Regions from separate parts of the Homo sapiens genome. Here region 1 is linked to region 2. The links are contacts of gene promoters, found by promoter capture Hi-C in blood cells and fetal thymus (Javierre and others, 2016). All regions are on one chromosome and are shown on one strand. The core of a region is centred on a gene start or on the middle of the fragment in contact, and the rest is flanking DNA. Distances in the headings are between cores, read along the strand shown.

Region 1 (3,889 bases), core at 1,043-3,542, 1.1 Mb after region 2:
TTGGATAGCCCCCTGTACTAAACTTCTAAATATACAAGATTTGAGGGCATAAATTATTTAATAGTTAAAAAGTAACTTCAATTTGGTAAGACAATCCCTCAATGAGATCTATTTCAATAATCTGTCTGGAGTAATGTTGTTACTATTAATCTTAGCTCACTTTCAAAAGTTAGTGAAATATGATTTAATAGACAATTGGTTACTTGTTTAAACATCAGTTAACTGAATTACATGATTTAAACAGCAAACACTATTTTAACAATGGCAAACACATATGCACGTGCACACACACACATAACATTGCAGTTGATTTTCACACAGCTTTATAAACCACTTTAATTTTTTCCCTCCTCCACCTCAATTCCATCAGTAAAGAGTTCATCTTTAGGGGTTATATTTAATATATTAATAGACCTTTCATTGTACTCTCCTCCAGTTCTTGAGTATCCAAAGCAATATGCACATGTATCTGTCCAGAGCTGAATTTTTTTTCTGTATAATAATTCTTCATGGAGGCAAAGAAGGTGCAAGTATTTTCTTAAACCCCTAAGCTATACACTTGTAAGAAACAATTACTTTTATGCTTTGGATAACCGATAAGAAGTTAAAAGAAATTAAAACTTACGTTTTTCCATCACTAGATTGACCAACCCACTATTTTAGTCACATGGCACGAGACCAAATATTAAGAGAACCATTGGCCGCTAAAACAAGAATTTGTGACTTGCCCTGTTTGAGGAGCATTTGGGACATACAAAATGTTCCATGTGAAGATTCAAAAAATTAAAAGGTTATTCAATGCCTTCCTTTAAAAGTTTCACTGAGGAAGTCCCAGAGGCCCAATGTTACCCAAATACTTGGCATAAGTTCTAGTGCCAGATATTTTCTCAACATGTATTGCACACTTAAAAAAAATTGTCACTTAATTTATACTTGTTCCTGACTTCAGCTACAGAGCTAGGAACGTCTTTCTCATTTTAATAGTCACTCAGGACCTGACAACAGCCCACACACATAGTAAATGGTCATAGAATCTGTGACATTAAACTGAAAACACTCAAAATGTAGACAGGTTGGCTAAGCAAACAGCATGCTCCCACCTGTGTTCCTGCCCAAGTCACTGAGACAGGGCAGCTCACAAGGCTGAAACTCCAAAGGCCCCATCAGTTGTAACTTCCGAGTATGTGTCACTTGCACAATCAACTTTCTAACTCCAAGGAGCCTAAGTGAGGCGGGCCTTAATGGGTCAAAAATCACACTTAGGTGAGCAGCACCTTTTAAGACGTTCCCTCAAACAAGTTCTAAACCAGTGGTTCTCAAACTTCAGTGGGCATTCCAATCACCTGGGGATCTCGTTAAAGAGCAGATCCTGAGTCGGTGGGTTTGGAGAACTGCCCATATTGGGCAGTTCTAAGAAGCTCCCAAGAGATTCCAATGCTGCAGGTCCACTCACGACCCTCGGAGCTCAAGGCCCACAAACACCCAAAGACACCCACATCACTGATATTAGCAATAGACAACAGCTGCAGCTACAGGCAGTGCCCCATAATCCCCTGGGTTTTCTGCATCCCCTGAGTGTCGCCACCGGGTCGCACCTGGCAGGTGCCTTGGCTGCAGCCGCGCCCCACTCCTCCGCGCCGCGCTCACCTTCTCCCGGGTCTTCAGGTACCGCTGCAGCGCCTGCTGGGTGAGCTCGCCGACGCGCAGCTGGCCCTCCTTGCAGGGCACCACGATGCCCGTCCTGCCGAAGCACACGGTCACTTTCATCCTGGCCCCCGGCGACCACGCCGGGCCGGGCCGAACAGGTGTCTGACCCCGCGGGCGCAGCCCCCACTCTCGGAGGACGCCCGGGGCGGGTGGGCCCAGAGACCCGGGGCGCCGCTCCCCGGAACACCCTGAGGCCCGGAGGCTCGCGGCAGCGCCCCTTCCACCTGGCCAGGCGGCAGGTGGCGGGAATCGGGGAGGGGCGGCCGCGGAAAGGGGTTACCTCCCAGGTGCCCGGCGGCCCGGGACGCGGCAGCTCCGCGGCACCGGCTCCTCCTCCTCCTCCTCCCGCTCCTACTCCTGCCCGGCCCAGGCGGCTGCTCCGCGCCCACCAAAGCGAAACTGCCGGCCCTGCCCTGTCGCTGGTCCTGGCCCTGGCCCTGGCCCTGGCGGCGTTGGCAGGGCCGGCCCCAAGCCGGGGGCTGGAGTGGGCGGCGGCGGCGGCGGCGCACGGGGCCAGAGTTGGGAGGAAACTTTTGCGCCGGCTCCCAACTCCTCTGCGGCGCCCGCGCTCTGGGCTCCTGCGGTCCCGGCGACGGCCTGGGCCCGGCTCTTAAAGGGGCCGCGGCGCTCCCGGGCCCCGCCGCACGCTGGGCGACGACGTGCCCCGGCCCTGCGGGCCAGTAACTGGAGCCCGGGAGCCTCGTCTCGTCACCTGGGTCTCTCCCTGGCTCTCTCCCTCTCGCACGCATGCACACGGAGCTCTGGGGAGTTGTAAGGGGACCTGAGGGCTACACGCTCGAGGATTGAAACCGGATCTCAGAAAGAACACCCGAGGGAAGAGCGAGGAGACTGCAGAGCTGCGCCCTTCACAGGAGGGGACTGCAGCAAGATGCAAAAGGAGCCCAGGAGCAGGTGCTTCTAGTCACGCCCACCAAAAACACCCAAGGGGCGAGGCTGCCGGGTGCGGAGATGCAGGAGTGCCCCGAGGGCCTGTTAGGAACTCGCCTTAAGCACAGCCCGTGCCGCTGCCATCAGGAGCCCTGGGATAGCAGAGCTGAAGCGAACCTTGGAGAGAACGCGCCAGTGGAAACTTTTCCTTTTACAGACCCTCGAGGACACTGAGTATTTGGCCAAAGGTCACACCCAAGACCCAGATATGATCGCGTGTGTTGACACATAGCCTTCTGGAATGCGACTACCGTTGTGCATTTTATTAGGAAAAAAAAAAGTTAACACCCTTAGGCTCATGATTTGGCAGGTGTGTATCCATCACCAATTGAAATGGGAATATGTGGGGGAAACCAACAAATTACGTTAGTTTCATTCTTAGCTCTCATGTAAATGAGCTCCTTTGAGCTTAACAACTACCCGGTAGGTAGATATTATTCTTCGCATCTTGTGCATCAAGAATGGTGCTCGGAGAGGTCAAGAGACTGAGCAGACCATGGTGTTAGTTCTGTTGAAAAGAACTCAGGTCTTCTGAGCTCAATCTCTGGTCTCTCCCTGCAGTTTTCTTAGCCATCCAGTTCATCCAGCAAGACCCTCAGGGCTGCATCATGTGTTTCTCTACAGAAGGATGTGCTCCTATGTGGACACACTTAAATTGAACGTGAATTGCCTAGGATGGTATGATAATGCAGAGGAGATTAAATTCATGGGTTTCAAGAGGTTTTTTAAAAAAATAAATTTTAGCTCATTCATACATTCAGTAAGTATATATTGGTTGTCTTCTATGTATAGAAAGTCAGTGGCAAACCAAGAGGATCACGTAAACCAAGTCCATTGTAATTTGGTTGTAAATCCAATACAAACTAATTTACATTTAAATAAACCAAAGACAGAATTGATCACCTCATAAAATCAGAAGATCCAGAGGGCACTCCATTGAGGCAAGGTTGAAAGCAGGAACTCAAACTATGTCCTCAGGGGCCAGCTAGCTCTGTCCAGCTCTTAGCTCTATCTGTTCCTCAGTGTGGTCTCCATTCTCAGGCCAGCTCTCTTCAAAGGAGACACTTTATCCTCTTTTTAGAGATGAGGAGCTGAGGCCAAAGGAAGTTAAATGATTTAGTTAAAATCTCATTCTTAGAAAGTAGCAGAGGCTGGCTTAAAACCCAGGTCATCTGATTCCAGAGTCTTCATCGTAACTGCTGTGCTGTTTCTTACATGAGAAGTACCAATGAGT
Region 2 (3,636 bases), core at 330-2,829:
AAGAGTGAGAGACCTTCGAGGGCCTGCAATTTGTTTTAGCTAATAATAATTTCTAAAAGAACGTACGATTTACTTTCCCAGACAACACATGGATGAAGAGAGAAGAGACCAACCGTCTTGGTTGCCAGCAGCACCCAACCCCAAGCCCCTATCTCAGCCACAAGCCAACTTGCTCCACCAGCCTGAGCCTTATGATTCTGAAGCATAACCAGTCATTCTCCAAAGAATCTACAGCATCTGAAAACCAAAACTAAACTCTTGTCTTTCCCAAGCCCTTCAGTTAACATTGCTCAATGTAGCTAAGTGGAGGGAATGCAAATGATTTATATTTCACTGGCTAGTTGGAGAAACTCAAGGGAGATGTGTTCTGCTTCAAGACAGGGAAAAAAAATTCCCAAAAACTGTAATGCAAAGGCTTTGTAGTATTTTTAAACCTTTGATTCAGTCCATATGTGACATATGAACACCGCCAAATTCTGTTTCAAAACACACTCACACACACACACACACACACACACACACACTCCTAGCAGGAGAGGAAAGTTGGGTTTTAGCAGCCGTGGTGGTGTAGGAAGGGCCGGCTGGGATCTCTCTTTAAATTATTGAGTACTGAGGGAGCCTTCTTCTGTGCCGTTCTGCGTGGCCTTCCTGCTTTAGCGGTCACTTTTAAAGGGGAAACCATGTTGCAATAAATAGAAAAACTTTCAGTGGCTTACCTGGTTGGCCTCTCACTTGGTGTCTTGAAAAGTAGAGGGCTAAGAAAACCCAGGTGAGAGGAAACATATCCATTTTGGAGAAGGTGGCTCTTTCCAGAGCTGGGTTCGTAGGTTTCTTGTTTAAATCTTTGTGTTTTTCTCTCTTTTATTTTCCTCCTTACAACGTCTTATGCAGAGGTTTCTAATGGTCAGCGTTTCCCTCCTGAGTCCTGGTGGCTTGTCTTCACCTCTATTCTTGCTGGAATTTCCACCTCACCAGGAGGAGAGTAGCTCCTGAAATCAGCAAAGAGGGAACAAGCCGGGAAGAGAACACGGTTTTCCTCTTAAAAACAAAACGCATATATGTTCTCTCCAGTTCCTCAAAGTGTCATTTCCTTTATCCTACAAATATCACGAGTATTTCCCGAAAGCCAAGCGTAACAATAATGATAATAATAATAATTAAAACCAAGACTTGCCTTGGGCATCACACGGCCCCCAGGCAGCTGTGTGATCTCAGAGGCGTAAACTGACACACATCCCGCGGCACCCTTGACGGACACACGGGCGGAGGCAGCCGCCGCCGGACAGCCCGAGTGGAAGGCGGCCGCCCTGCTCTTGTCCTCGCCGGGTTCCCCCGGCGGGAGCCTCCCCCAACGGCTACACCCGCTTGGCCAGCCTCTCGAGGGGAGTCTGAGGAAGGAAGCTGCTGCTGCTGTTGCTGCTGCTGGTGCGGCGGCGGTGGCGGCTGGGATCGCCTGGGAGTGAGCGAGCCCCTCTCCGAGTTCGCTGGCGCCCGCCCTCACCTCCACCTCGCCGAGTGTCTGTGCGGCTGAGGATGTGCTGGGGGCCGGCTGCAGGCTGGTGCCTCGCTCGCGATCTCTGCCTCCCCTCCGGCTCCCCACTGCCTTTTCAGGCCGAGCAGCATGTGGATGTCAGAGCCGCGGCAGAGCTATCCGATTACGCGCCGGCTCAGGGCCCGCCCCTTCTGTGTTCCTGATTAAAGAGGCAGCCGCGGAGACGCGCGGCGCAGAGCAGAGTGCCGCGGCACCCAGCTCGGGCGGGGCGGCGACGGCTTCTCTCGGGCCGCCGCAGGATCGAAGTTAAGGCGGCGCCCATCCCACCACCCCTCGCCCGCCCCGCATCTCCCGATCGCCCCCGCGCACCTCCGCGCCGGGCCGCCGGTGCGTAACGCCCTGGGGAAGAAGCGCCCCCGGGCACCCCCAGGGCGCGCCGCCTTGGCCGTGTCGCCCCCACCCAAGGGAGACCCCGGGGGGACGGGGGGAAAAGCCTTGTTCCCCCTAAATTCCACGACTCCGATGCCACACACGCAGAACCCAACACAATGCCACGCGCGATGGCGTTACAAGAGGAGTTGGGTGGCGTACGGTGTTTGGGGTAGCGAGCCGGTCGGCAGCTCAGCCATGCGTTCGAACAGGCAGCGGTGCGTGGCGGCGACACACACCGTCAGCCCGGTCTGAATAAAACCCCAAACACTCGCTGCGTTTACTACTCAGATCCTTTGTTATGTCCCAAACATGCTCTGCTCCTCTCTGGGTTAGGATTTCGTTACCCCTGCGCCTTTAACTGTAACTACCCTAAAAAGAGGAAAGACTTTCTTCAGCAAATAATTTCTTCAGGTAATTAAATTGGATTCCATCAAGTTCCCCCGAAAAAGTATAGGTGCTTGAAGGCGTCTCATCCAAATGCTACTGTAACTACGTCTATTCACATTTTCCCCCATGGAAACGTGGTCACAAAGCCTAGAGAAAGAAAACATCATTATGCCAACTATTTTTAAATGGAGGCGTGAAAACTGTTTAGAGGGAACTGCAAGCTAACAGTTGGGGAAACACTTGTATCTTTGTTTCTGAGGATGGCTTTGTGGATTCCAAACTGTCTTGCTTCACCAGACACCTATTACTACATTATCATAAAGACTGCAACAGAAACAGCCTAAATTACACCCTGCACATGTACACCTTTTCTGCCACAAAAGAGGTATATGAAAAATAAGAAAATTCAGAAAAATATTTACAGATTAAGATTTTTTTTAAATTAAGAAAGTAAAATTTTCTGTAGATTAAGAAAAATACAGTTTCGGTGACGAGAAACACACACCTGACTACCCATTTTCTTCTTGGCTTGTACTTGTGGATTCTTCTGGGTGGTTTCCCTCCTTATCTGGACTTGCCCATTAGCTTTATCACTTTTAGTGTTTGAAAAATCTGTAACTCCCACTTAACTGTTATTTACACTGAGATAACCAAAACAAAATTGAATCAGAAGTGATTTGCAAATAGTTGAGCCAAGCTGTGTTGGGGGGTGGCGCGGGATTTTAGAGTGGAAATCCACAGGCTGAGTATCACACTGTTAATCTCAGATGCCTGGTTGGGAAAGGCACAGCACAGAGGCCTCTGAGTTCTTCCAGGGAGCATGTCTCTTGGCTAGCCTAAATGCTACCTTTCATTCCCTCTTTGCCTCCCTCCTTCCTCTTCCTCCCTCCTTTCCTTCCTTCTTCCTTCCTTTCTAGGCTTGAGAGCACATCCACATTATTAAAAACTCCAGATTTACATTTCTCCTCTTTAAAGCTCAATTGTAAAGAATGACTCCAAGCCTTAAATATTTAACAAAGTAAAAGAGCAGTTTGGATTATTAACCTTAAGCAGAGATCCCGGTTTATGTCATTGCCAAGATGCTAATCTAAGGACAAAGAACGCTATCTGTAGTGACAGTCCCTGAATAGAGAGGGCCATTTAATATCACCTCTCCCCACCACTCACCAGGCATGCCAAACCATTTTTGCCAGTGCCCAATGTGGGAGACTCCTGTTTGTGAGAATAATGTAGCCAGGGTTTAGGTGAAGGGCACTGTGAAAGGGGGAAAGAAGAGAGAAAAGGTAAACCTAAGCCCACTGGAGAACCATAAGAATGACAACCCT

The links. Contacts are between HindIII fragments. The CHiCAGO score rates a contact against its expected background, and 5 or more counts as called.
Region 1: the fragment with the promoter of PARD3B here is called in contact with the fragment with the promoter of NRP2 in region 2 in 4 of 17 cell types (total CD4 T cells, endothelial precursors, non-activated CD4 T cells and 1 more); the score reaches 6.3 in total CD4 T cells.

What each region holds. Positions count from the first base shown.
Region 1 is chr2:204,543,878-204,547,766 of GRCh38, reverse strand. It overlaps PARD3B (par-3 family cell polarity regulator beta), which reads right to left and starts at 2,292. Exons shown (of 23, transcript NM_001302769.2): 1 at 1,648-2,292. The coding sequence starts at 1,767. RefSeq lists a silencer at 2,256-2,305. The HindIII fragment of the contact is 7,233 bases long and covers 1-3,889 here.
Region 2 is chr2:205,680,444-205,684,079 of GRCh38, reverse strand. NRP2 (neuropilin 2) reads right to left here and starts at 1,579. Exons shown (of 17, transcript NM_003872.3): 1 at 717-1,579. The coding sequence starts at 789. RefSeq lists a silencer at 2,059-2,178. The HindIII fragment of the contact is 6,030 bases long and covers 1-3,636 here.